Regions from separate parts of the Homo sapiens genome. Here region 2 is linked to region 1. Evidence: promoter capture Hi-C in human tissues and cell types (Jung and others, 2019). All regions are on one chromosome and are shown on one strand. Each heading gives the region's core, a stretch centred on a gene start or on the middle of the fragment in contact. The rest is flanking DNA. Distances are from core to core; before and after follow the strand shown.

Region 1 (6,024 bases), core at 639-3,138:
TACCAAGCACAGCTAATTTTATCAGACAATGGTATTTATTTTTATTTATTTATTTTTTTTTGAGACAGAGTCTCGCTCTGTTGCCCAGGCTGGAGTACAGTGGTGCAATCTTGACTTACTGCAACCTCCGCCTCCTGGGTTCAAGTGATTCTCTTGCCTCAGCCTCCTGACTAGCTGGGATTACAGGCATGTGCCACCACGCCCGGCTAATTTTTTTTTTTTTTTTTTTTTTTTGAGACGGAGTCTCGTTCTGTCGCCCAGGCGGGAGTGCTGTGGCGCGATCTCCGCTCACTGCAAGCTCCGCCTTCCGGGTTCACGCCATTCTCCTGCCTCAGCCTCCCGAGTAGCTGGGACTACAGGCGCCCGCCACTGCGCCCGGCTAATTTTTTGTATTTTTAGTAGAGACCGGGTTTCACCGTGGTCTCGATCTCCTGACCTCGTGATCCGCCCGCCTCGGCCTCCCAAAGTGCTGGGATTACAGGCGTCAGCCACTACGCCCGGCCTAGACAATGGTATTTTAAAAAAGCTTTCCAGTGATTCCATTGTACAGCCATGATCCCTTGAACCTCACCAATTTCAACCAAACTATAGGTTCAAATTTAAGTTCCACTACTTAAAGCATGCCACTGTTGTGGGTTGAATTGTGTCCCGGCAAAAGAAGTTGAAGTCCTAATGCCCAGTGCCTATGAAGATGGACTAATTAGGATGCAGTCTTTGAAGATGTTCAGGTTAAGATGAGGTAATTACGTTGGATTTCTAATCCAATGACTGGTGTCCTTATAAAAAGGGGAAATCTGGCTGGGGGTTGTGGCTTACCCCTGTAATCCCAGCACTTTGGGAGGCCGAGGCGGGTGGATCACCTGAGGTCAGGAGTTCGAGACCAGCCTGACCAACATGGTGAAACCCCATCTCTACTAAAAATACAAAAATTAGCTGGACGTGGTGGTGGGTGCCAGTAATCCCAGCTACTCTGGAGGCTGAGGCAGGAGAATCGCTTGAATCCAGGAGGCAGAGGTTGCATTGAGCTGAGATGGCGCCACCGCACTCCAGCCTGGGCAACAAGAGCCAGACTCTATCTCAAAAAAAATAAAAATAAAAATAAAGTGTGGGCGGGGAATCTGGACGCAGAGACAGAGACACCAGGAGAACTCCATGGAATACCAGATAGTCCTAACAAACCACTGGAAGGTAGGAGAAAGGCATGGGACAGATTCTCCCTCATAGCTCTCAGCTGAAACCAACCCTGCCAACACCTAGATCCGACCTCCAGCCTCCAGAACTGTGAGACAATCAATTTCTGTTGTTGCAGCCACCCAGTTTGGGGTGATACTTTGTTACGGCAGCCCTAGTAAGCAATACAACTACTTGCATAGTAGCCAGGGGACTCTCTTCACCTGTTTCCTCATCTGTAAAAGTGGAATTGTAATAATGTGCCAGGGTGCATTCCAAATAGTTTACACGGATTGTCTCAGTCATTACATCATCCCTCTGACATAGTCACTATTACTGTCTCTACTTAACAGATGAGAAAGTTGTGAAACAGGTTAAGTAACTTGCTCAAGGTCACACGGTAACTAAATACATAAACTAATAATACATTCTTCACAGGATTATTCGAAAGCCCTTATGAGACTGCAGATGTGGACGTGAAATCGTTTTGTAAGTAGTCGGCATTTTACTCGCGTTAGTGAGGTTCTCTGTATATTCAGGACTTTTTTTTTTTTTTTTTTTTGTCATCTCTGACTCTCCTTCCTCTTCCTACGCGATACTTCTTTCCCTCGGCGACAGGGGCCGCTGCGCTGGGCGGGTGCCGACGGTCTCTCTAGCCCGCCGCACCGGCTGCTCGCTGGTGCCTATAAGTGACAGCGCCGGGCTCAGCTAGGCTTCAGTCTGCTGCCGCCGGGGCCGGGGCTAGGGTTAGTTCTGGAGCTGGACCAGGAGGAGCTGCAGCTGGGCCGGGGCGGAGCGCCGCGTCGCGCCAGGGCCGCGAGGAGGGGCGTGTTGCTGCTGGCCCACCGCGAGCCGCCCCCAGCCCGCGCCGAGGCGCCTTCCCGCCAGGCCGCCTGCCTTCCGCCTCTTTCCATTTCCCCGGAATCTCAGCCCGGCGCGCCTGGACCCCTGCCCCTCTCTGGGTGGAGAAGCTCCCGGCCGCTTCCCGGTTTCACTCCTTCTCAGCCTGGGCTCCCAGCCCCCTCTCTCCTTTTCCTGGACTGGCTCTCACCCCCTTCGGTCCCCTTCCTTTAGCTCAGGCTCCCTACCCCTTCCTTTAGCCCACAGCCCAGAGTCCCAGCTCCTCAGTCACTTTCCTCAGCCAAAGGTCCCAGCCTTCCTTCTTCCTTTCCTTTGCACTATCCCTATCCTGCCCCTTCCTCTATCCCTAGGGCTCAGTTTCCCACATCCGTCCTCCCCCTTCCCAGGCCCGGAGTTCCAGACCTTTTGGTCTCCTTTCGTGGTCGTTCCTGGGTCCTTGCCCCCTTTCCCCACTTTGGAGTTCCAGATTGCAAACCCAGCCTCCCTCCACCCCCAGAAAATTGCTTCCATGGAAATGCCTCTCTAAAACATGAACTTTTCCTAGAGACTACGCCAGTCTCTCTTCCCACTTGCTGACCCTTTGCTACCTATGTGCCCGGTTTTACTCTCATTTGGGTAAGGTCGAGGCTGGCTCTGGAAGCAGCACCATGGTTCTGCGGTCTGGCATCTGTGGCCTCTCTCCACATCGGATCTTCCCTTCCTTACTCGTGGTGGTTGCTTTGGTGGGGCTGCTGCCTGTTCTCAGGAGCCATGGCCTCCAGCTCAGCCCAACTGCCAGCACCATTCGAAGCTCAGAGCCACCACGAGAACGCTCGATTGGGGATGTCACCACCGCTCCACCGGAGGTCACCCCAGAGAGCCGCCCTGTTAATCATTCCGTCACTGATCATGGCATGAAGCCGCGCAAGGCCTTTCCAGTCCTGGGCATCGACTACACACACGTGCGCACCCCCTTCGAGATCTCCCTCTGGATCCTTCTGGCCTGCCTCATGAAGATAGGTAAGTCCCGTTTGCTCCGATGCTGCGGCCGCCACCAGACTGGTGAGCTTCTTGCCTCATCTCGCACCATTTGAGGCTGTCCAGGAGTAAGGATCTGAACTACCCCCATAAAGTAGGCAGTCTCCATCCTGCCACCTTGGTCCTTCTCAGGCTCCAGTTCTGTGGCTTCTGATCTGTGATCTGAGGCTTCCCAAGATTGGAGCCAGCACTGTGCACAGAAGAGAGCAGGATTAGAGAATGGGATGCCTCTGATCCTAGGTCCCTTCAGTAAGGCTTCCACGACTGGCAAGTCTCCTCTGGCTGGGCCAGACCCCCAGGGGAGCCAGGCACCCCGCTGTGTGTGAGACAGAAAGGAGTGTCTTCTGGCGAGTGGCACATTCTGCTCTGTCAACAGCAACCAGTGCAATTTATGACAGGCTTCACTGGAGCGTGTTCCAGGATGGAGTATATTTCTACTTGGCCTGCTTGAGGAGTTTAAGCATAGTGGAGACCTGGGCACAGGAAACTTACAAGTGTGGTGGAACACAGGGGATCCCCATATTCCCACCTTTCCTTCATCTCCAGAATGTTATCTGTCAGCTTTGCTTGTCCAGGCTAGTTAGGAGCCCCTGAGTCAATTTCCGGCCCAGGAATGCCATACTTTATAGAATCTGTGGGACAAGGGGCCCTGGAAATTTCTGAAGTCTGTTTTGGAAGTGGAGGGAGAGTAGAGGAGGTTGAGGCTTGGTCTGACCCCAGCTCACCCCCAGGTCGCTGCCTGGCTGTGTCTCAGGGTGCTGTCTGGCCTGCTGCTCAATCAAGTAGATGAGGTAGATGGGGGAGCCTAGGGATGTTCAGGCCTGAAGAGACTTTGAAACCTTCTTTTGGGGAGAAGGAAACAGACAACTTATTTGCTCTCAGAGTATTGGTCTCCCTGCTAGGCCTGAGCACTCTGTTCTGCTGAGTGATTGGGGGAGCTTACTGGAGCCTACATTGCCCAGAAGTCCCTGAAAGTGGTGTTCAGGGGGACTTTGACAACTGCCTTTGCATTTTCAGCTTGCCCCCAGCTGGCTGTGGAAGGCATGAGGTCCTGGGACTCTGCTGTCCCCTCTGCCTGAGATTTGGGTTTGGGAATTTGGCAGGAAACCTTCCAGCTCTCCCAAGGACATGCAGGAGCTGAGCGGTGCTGCCGGGCTGGTGTGAGGCAGGCTCTGGGACATGCAGCGGGAGGGAAGTGGTGCCTCTAATTTGACAGATCCAGGAGCTGGGTTCCTGGTGCAGGGCTCTTGTGCCAAGCTGGTCACAGTAGCAGAGCCTTACATGGAACTAAGCCATCAGCACCTATACCTTGATGGCAGTTAGCTTCCTGGAGAGAAATCAAGGACTGGACAAGGGGAACCATGTGTACTGATTCTGACATAAATGCATGACCTTGAATAGCTGAGGCCTTTTTCTGCAGGTCTCCCTCACCTGTGAAATGGTTAAGACTCTCAATTTGACCACACCAATTGAGTCATGAAATGTCGTCTGATTTGCTGTAAGAAGCTGAAGTGACAGTGATGTCATTTGACTGTGTGAGACCAGGAGGAGACCTCACAAGTGCAATCTATAAATTGCCTCCTGTCCCCGATCCCCTCACCTGCCCACCACACCTGGCATTACATTAGGGCATTCAGGGCTGGCAGACACACTTTGAGTGTCAGTGGCTGCTGGTGGGATGACAGCATGACTGCAGAGACCCCACTCTAGGCAGTCAGAAGTTTGTCCCTGCAGGCCTGGTATCTCTAGTGCTAATGAGGTCAGCTTGGCCTGGCCTGCTTTGTCACCACCCAAGTGCTGTGCCCGGGACCCTGGGCAGCTGGAGAGCAGAGATGGTGTCATGGCAACAATATCAGTCTAGAAGTCAGGAAAACCTGGCTTCTCTTCCTACCTCCCTCTGTCCTTGGACCAGTCACGCCTCCCTACCCATCAGTTGATCTTTGTGGTCCCTTCCAGGTGTGATATTTCTGTCATTCCACTGACTCTGGAAACTCTGGCAAGTCACTCAGCCTTGGACCTCAGTTTTCCCATTGTAAAATGATGAGGCTGGATGTGGTCTCCTTTCCAAAAGTCTGTTTCTGCCTTGGAAAGGCATTTTTCTGCCTCTGAAAACAGGAGTTCTAGCATCTGGCCATGAGTGGAGAGAAAGGTGGTCTAAAGATCTGAAGAGTCCCTGTTCAGGCCTCAAAAATGAAAGCCCATTTTTCCCAGCTTCACCTTTGCAGTGTGGAATTCAGCCACCACTCTGCCACTTAGCAGCATCTCTGAGCCTCAGTTTCCTCATGTATAAAAGGGGAACTAAGCTGGGCGCAGTGGCTCACGCCTGTAATCCCAGCACTTTGGGAGGCTGAGGCAGGGTGGATCGCCTGAAGTCAGGAGTTTTGATACCAGCCTGGCCAACATGGTGAAACCCCGTCTCTACTAAAAATACAAAAAATTAGCTGGGCATGGTGGCGGCTGCCTGTAATCCCAGCTACTCTGGAGGCCAAGGCAGGAGGATCGCTTGAACCCAGGAGGCGGAGGTTGCAGTGAGCCAAGATTGCGCCATTGCACTCCAGCCTGGGCAACAAGAGTGAAATTCCGTCTCTAAATAAATAAATAAAAAAAAATAAAATGGGAACTAATAGTATCCAGTTATAGTGCTATTAATGTGATTATTACATAAATAAATGCACATAAAAGTTTGTATACACAGGAAGTGTTCAATGAGTGACAGCTGCCCCTGTTAATATTTTAACCACCTACAGCAAATGCATCCCTACCTCAGCCTCCTACAACCTTCCTCTGAGCTGAAGGATTACAAATCTCTCAAACCTAGGCTGCCACCAATGTCCTTCCTTAGGGTATCAGGGTTTCCATGTGTCCTATACTGTTCACTTGAGCTGGTCATGGCGGGAGGGAAGATGACACCAGCTGCCTTGTAGGGATAAGGGTGGGGGGCTGAGGCCATGCTCCCTCTGCACTCTCAGATACCCA
Region 2 (6,339 bases), core at 2,532-5,031, 190 kb after region 1:
CTGACCTATGGCTTCTGACCTTCACACAGTTCCCCTTCATCCCTGTAGACTTGGGGTTCCTGAGATCAGACCAGTGTTTCCCTGCCCCCTCAGACGGGGAGCCTCTGAGGCCTGGATTCCACAGAGGGGGGCCTGAAGGCAAGGCTGGGGTTCCCGCCTCAGATTGGGGGCTCCTTGGGGACAAGTCTGGGTCTGCCCATCCCCAGTCCATGGCACCAGCTCCCTTGATGTCTCCTCACAGGGTTCTGCCCACAGTAAGAAAAGACGTCCTTAAGGGAGGTAGCACAAGCCTAGGACAGAGGGAGGGGCACTCCCACAGCAGCTCCTCCCCATCCCACACCAGCTCTGCAGAGAGCCCTCCCTTCCCTCACCTTCGCTATGATTTAGGCAAGAATTGGACAGGATGGAAAGAAGCCCAGGATGTGGGGAGACAGGTCTGGGTTGAGTTACTTCTTCACTCAGAGCCTCAGTTTGCTTATCCATAAAATGGGAAGAATCCTATCTTCAGATGGTCTTCTCTTGTGTGTCTGCTTTTACCTATTGCTGCCAGGGATGGAAGGTGGCTGGTATCTCACCCTGCACCACCTTGTCTGACCAACAACTATTTTCTAGCGCCTCCTCAAATTGAGAAGCACTCCTGGAATCCCTCCCCTGGGACCCAACGAGCCCTGGATAACCTTCCACTGCAGCATTAAACTGTCGCCTCTCACGTTGTGTTGGCATCTCTGGGCATAGTCTGTGTCCTGACACACTGTGGGCTCCCCAAGGTCACTCACTGAGTCCTGTTCTCTCAGTGCTTGGCCCAGGGCTAGGCACGGAGTAGGGGCTCAGGGAGACCTCTTGGGTTCCCTACCTCGATTACTGCCCCCTCCCCACCCCCACTCCCACCCCACCCTGCCTCACCGTACCTGCCAGGGACTTTGTGTCTCCACTGCTGCTGACTCTCCCAAGCCCAGTGTCCTCCTGTGTCTAATTTGGGAGGTCCTGGGCAGGACCCTGCACCATCACCCCATGACCTCTGGCAAACCCCACCCACTCCCCTCTACCCTTGAATTTCATTCATTTCCTTCTACCACAAATGTAGGGGTGGTGCTAAACTGTTACACTGGTGGCCTCCAATGAACCATGGTCTTGTATGGTCCCCTCCCATGTTGACTCTGGGCTTGGCTGTAGGACTTGTTTTGGCAACGGGACACCAAGAAGCATGAAGCAAGCAGAGGCTTGATAAGCATTTGCACACTGGGGCTTGTCCTCTTGGAGGCCAGCTGCCACGCTAAAACACGGTCGGCTAGACTTCTGAATGATGAGAGGCCGTGGAGGAAGACAAGCCGTTTTGGGTGATCCAGTCTCAGCTAAGCTCCCAGCCACATGCATCAGCCAGGCGGAACCAGAACTGCCCTGCTGAGCCCCAACCAAGCCACAGAATTTTTAGAAATAATATATCATTGTTGTTTTATGCCACTAAGTTTTGGGGATAGTTTGTTTCTCAGCAATAAGCAACTGAAATAAGGGATACCCTAAGTCCCCTCTTCCCTCACCCTCTGCATCCAGTCCTGTGGGATCCGCCTCTGGAATATTTCATGGATCTGACCACTTCTCACCATGTCCCCAGGTGCCATCATCTCTCACCTGGACTCCCCGCGTAAGCATTGCCTTCCTGCAATCACCATACAGCAACCAGGGCCACTCCCTGGCTCAACACCCTCCAGTCAGTTCCCATATCCCTTAGATTAAAAGAAGTCCCGGGCAGGCATGGTGGCTCACACCTGTAATCCCAGCACTTTGGGAGGCCAAGGCGGGCAGATCACGAGGTCAAGAGTTCGGGACTAGCCTGACCAACATGATGAACTCCTACTCTACTACAAATACAAAAATTACCCAGGCATGGCGGTGCACACCTGTAATTCCAGCTACTCAGGAGGCTGAGGCAAGAGAATCACTTGAACCCAGGAGGTGGAGGTTGCAGTGAGCCGAGATCGCACCACTGCACTCCAGCCTGGGTGACAGCATGAGACTCCGTCTCAAAAAAAAAGATTAAAAGAAGTCCCTCTCCCCCTTGCTCACTGCACTCGGACAACACTGGCTTCCTTCCTGTTCCTCTAACATGCTGAGCTTATCCCAACCTCAGGGCCTTTGCACCAGCTGTTCACCCTGCCTGGAACACTCTTCCTCTCGGTCTTTCCATCTAGGTCTTTCCATTCTCAGCTTAAATGTCTCCTCCTCAGGAATGCTATCTATAGAAGAGGAAACTGAGGCTCGGAAAAGTGAGGTCATTTCCCAAGTTCACACAGTTAGGAAAAGGCTGGACCAGGATTCCATCCCAGGTCTGTTTGACCCTCTCTCCAGGGCACTTTCTCCCACATCGATGGTTTGGGAGGCAAAGCTGGTGGTCATGGGCTCCTGAGAAAGGGGAAGAATTGGAGGGGCCTCCTTCACTTACCCCCTCCATAAACACTCCCAGCCAGAGCCTTTGGGCTCTGCCCTGGCTGGGTGCTGGGGACTCAGGGATGAATCAGAACAGACCTTGCCCACTGGGAGCTTCAGTCTGAAGGCAGGAAAAGCAGCAGGGGAGGTCAAGATCACTTAGGGACCCAGATGGCCTTGACTTAGCATAGGGGACAGCCTTCTAGCTGGGGGCTCTCTAGGAAGGCTTCCAAGAGGCATTGGCTCTTGGAAGTGACATTGGCTGGGGTGGGCAGAACGTAGGGGGTGGTGTTCAGTGGCCAGAGCTGCAGTGCTCTCTCTGAGTGACCAGGAGCCTCAGCTTGGCCATGTGTAGCCTTTCCTCTGTGTGTGTGTGTGTGTGTGTGTGTGTGTGTGTGTGTGTGTGTGTGTGTGTGTAACAGTGAGGGAGTAGTATGGTGGGGGATGAGGGTGCAGCCAAGAGAAGGGCTGAATGAATAAATGCATTTCACTGATGTAGAAACTAAAGCCCAGAGAGTCTGAGTCACTTGTCCAGGCTCACAAAGCACCAAGCAGTAAAGGCAGGATCTGAACCCAGGTTTAACCTGACACCACACAGAGGCAAGTGAGGAAGCAGAGGTCCATATTCACCAAGGCCCACCCCTTACTCACTATGTGACCTCAACTAAGCTCGTTCCCCTCTCGCACCTCATTTTCTCATTGGCAAATTGAGGGGGTTGGGTGAAGCTTCTTTTGGCACAAGGACTCTGGAAAATACTTTTACTAGGGACTTGGAACCAACCAGCAGATCCTGCCTCAACCTGGCACAAGATAGGGTTCCTCAGCCTGCAGCTCCCTCTAGGCCCAGCCAATGGGGTGCAGCACTGGCACAAGACAGAGAACCCCAGGAATCCCTGGGGGCTCCCGTCTAACAGTGCAGCCTGGAGTTCCAGGGGGCTTCCCCTGCACCTCTCTCCACAGCTCTCACACAGTACAGAGCCCTGTTCGCTTGCCCCTCACCCCCTTCACCGCCACCCCCACCCCACAAGCGTAACAGTTTTTTTTGTTTGTTTTGTTTTGTTTTTTGAGATGGAGTCTCGCTCTTGTTGCCCAGGCTGGAGTGCAATGGTGTGATCTCGGCTCACTGCAACCTCCACCTCCCGGGTTCAAGCGATTCTCCTGCCTCAGCCTCCCAAGTAGCTGGGATTACAGGCATGAGCCACCATGCCCAGCTAATTTTGTATTTGTAGTAGAGATGGAGTTTCTCCATGTTGGTTAGGCTGGTCTCGAACTCATGACCTCAGGTGATCCGCCCACCTCGGCCTCCCAAAGTGCTAGGATTACAGGTGTGAGCCAACGCAGCCGGCCTCTAAGGACCCAGTTTCTGGGGGGCCCAGAGGAGCCACTGCAAAGAGCTCAGGCTCTGAACCAGAATGAACTTGGGCTCAGCTCTAGGCTCTGCCACTTACTAGCTATGTGACCCTGGGCAAGTGGTTTAAATCTCTGAGCCTCTGTTTTCTTAGCTGTAAAACAGGAGTTTGAGATCTGTTTACTGAGTTATTGTGAGGATTTTTTTTTTCGCTTGGGGGACAGGGTCTTGCTCTGTCACCCAGGCTGGAGTGCAATGGCATGATCACTGCTCACTGCAACCTTGACCTCCTAGGCTCAAGTGATCCTCCTGCCTCAGCCTCCTGAGTAGCTGGGACCACGGGCGTGCATCACCATACTGGCTAATTTCTTTTCTTTCCTTTTTTTTGGCAGAGACAAGGTCTTGCTGTTTCCCAGCCTGGTCTGAACTCCTGAGCTCAAACGATCCTCCTGTCTTGGCCACTCAAAGTGCTGGGATTGCAGGTGTGAGCCACCCTGCTGGCCTTATTATGGGGATTAAATGGAATAAGGCACATAATAAACCTAACATGTTGTAGGCAGTCGTGGTCAATACCAGTAATTTGCTCAGCTTATTCTCAGAGGCAGTGGTCTTGCCTTTGAGAGTCCCAGCCCCAGAATGGCGGGGCAGGGAGCCAGAGGGTGGGGTGTGGAGGTGAGGAAGGGGGTTAATATAAAATAGCTAACATCTGTTTAGCACTTACCATGTGCTGGTCTCGGTTGTAATCACCACATGAAGCTATCACCCACACTTTACAGATGAGGTGTCTGAGGCACAGAGGAGTTCAATAACTTGGCCAAAGGAACACACAGCAAGTACGTGTATGAGCTGGGGCACGAGTTCAGATCCTATGGCTCCAGAACTCACACTCTAAACCACTGTGTTATCTTACCTCATGTTAAAACCATTTTTGGATGAGAAATGCTGAGGTCCAGGCCAGGCGTGGTGGCTCACGCCTATAATCCCAGCACTTTAGGAGGCCGAGGTGGGTGGATCACCTGAGGTCAGGAATTCGAGACCAGCCCGGTCACATGGTGAAACCCCATCTCTACTAAAAATACAAAAATTAGCTGCACGTGGTGGCCTGTGCCTGTAATCCCAGCTACTCCAGAGGCTGAGGCAGGAGAATCGCTTGAAGCCAGGAGGCAGAGGTTGCAGTGAGCCAAGATCGCACCATTGCACTCCAGCCTGGGCAACAGAGCGAGACTCCGTTTCAAAAAAGAAAAAAAAAAAAAAAGGAAATGCTGAGGTCCAAAGAGGCTAAGTTCACACCACAGCTGAGCATCTAGTATTCCAAGTCAGAACCTGTGACCCTGAAGTTCTGGCAATTTCCACTGTTGTGTGCTGTCCCCTAGTGCCCTTATGGGAGAAGCACACCAGAGGCAAGCAGCAGATACCCAGGGAAGGAAGGGAAGCAGGTCCACTGAAGCCGGCTCCACACACCACTGCCTACATTCCCCTGACCCACGGCTCCTCCACAGCCCCAGCGCTGTACGTGTTGCAGCTCCTAAACAGCACTCCAAAATGGCATCCATGGATACAATGGTGATATGTCTGGGCTATCTTACAGACCATCAAATTCAATAGGTCTAACACTACGTTTGCATTCTTACACCCCAAACTGGTCCTCCCCAGTCATCTCCATTCATCCAGTAACACAGCCAGAAGCCCAGCGTCATCCTTGATACTTCCCTCCTCCCACCAAGCTGTCACCACCAGCCTGGGAGCCTAAATGGTGGCTGAGGAGGGTGATCAGAAAAGTAAAAATTGAACAGAGTGGAGCAACCATGGGGAAAGCAGGGGATTGGGACAATGGCCCCAGGTCAAGGCCAAAAGGAAAAACTGAGCTCAAGAGGCTGATGACAGAGGCAGTTGTCCACTCTGCTTAGAAAGAAACCCAGACACGCTGGGTGCGGTAGCTCATGCTTGTAATCCCAGCACTTTGGGAGGCTGAGGCGGGTGGATCACGAGGTCGGGAGATTGAGACCATCCTGGCTAACTCGATGCAACTCCGTCTCTACTAAAAATACAAAAAATTAGCCAGGTGTGGCAGCACACGCCTGTAGTCCTAGCTACTAGGGAGGCTGAGGCAGGAGAATCACTTGAACCTGGGAGGCGGAGGTTGCAGTGAGCCAAGATCACGCCACTCCACTCTAGCCTGGGAGACAGAGCAAGACTCTGTCTCAAAAAAAAGAAAGAAACCCAGACACAGCTGTAAGGGCTTGGAGGAGGGCACAGTGAGGAACATTGTATGGGGAGTCAGAAAGATGGGGTTCCCACCCAGCTTTACTACTCATTAGAAGTGTGGCCTTGAGCAAATGGTCTAACCTTGATGGCCTCAGTTTCCCCACTTGTAAAAATGAATATGACATTGCCAACCTCATAGGGCTGTAATATGGATCAAGTAAAAAATGTGTTTGTTTTGTAAAGTGTAAAGGAAAGCGCACAGGAGAGGCAGGTTGTGACCCGGAAAACTCACCCCAGTAGACCTCTCTCTCCTTTGTCGGCTGAATGATGGACCTATAAGGTACTCTGTTTTGCTTCAAAGA

What was found. The method cuts DNA at HindIII sites, captures the fragments that hold promoters and counts their contacts. A contact is called where the count stands out against the background at its distance.
Region 2: a contact is called between a fragment that was not itself captured here and the fragment with the promoter of SLC9A1 in region 1, in 4 of the 25 tissues and cell types used here (IMR-90 fibroblasts, aorta, heart right ventricle and 1 more).

What each region holds. Positions count from the first base shown.
Region 1 is chr1:27,150,989-27,157,012 of GRCh38, reverse strand. It overlaps SLC9A1 (solute carrier family 9 member A1), which reads left to right and starts at 1,888. Exons shown (of 12, transcript NM_003047.5): 1 at 1,888-3,030. The coding sequence starts at 2,679. RefSeq lists enhancers at 494-993, 4,600-4,649 and a silencer at 1,939-2,168. The HindIII fragment of the contact is 28,159 bases long and covers 1-6,024 here.
Region 2 is chr1:26,965,890-26,972,228 of GRCh38, reverse strand. No RefSeq gene overlaps it. Among named protein-coding and RNA genes, the nearest start is that of KDF1, 8.6 kb to the right of the region's middle. RefSeq lists a silencer at 4,798-5,498. The HindIII fragment of the contact is 6,129 bases long and covers 717-6,339 here.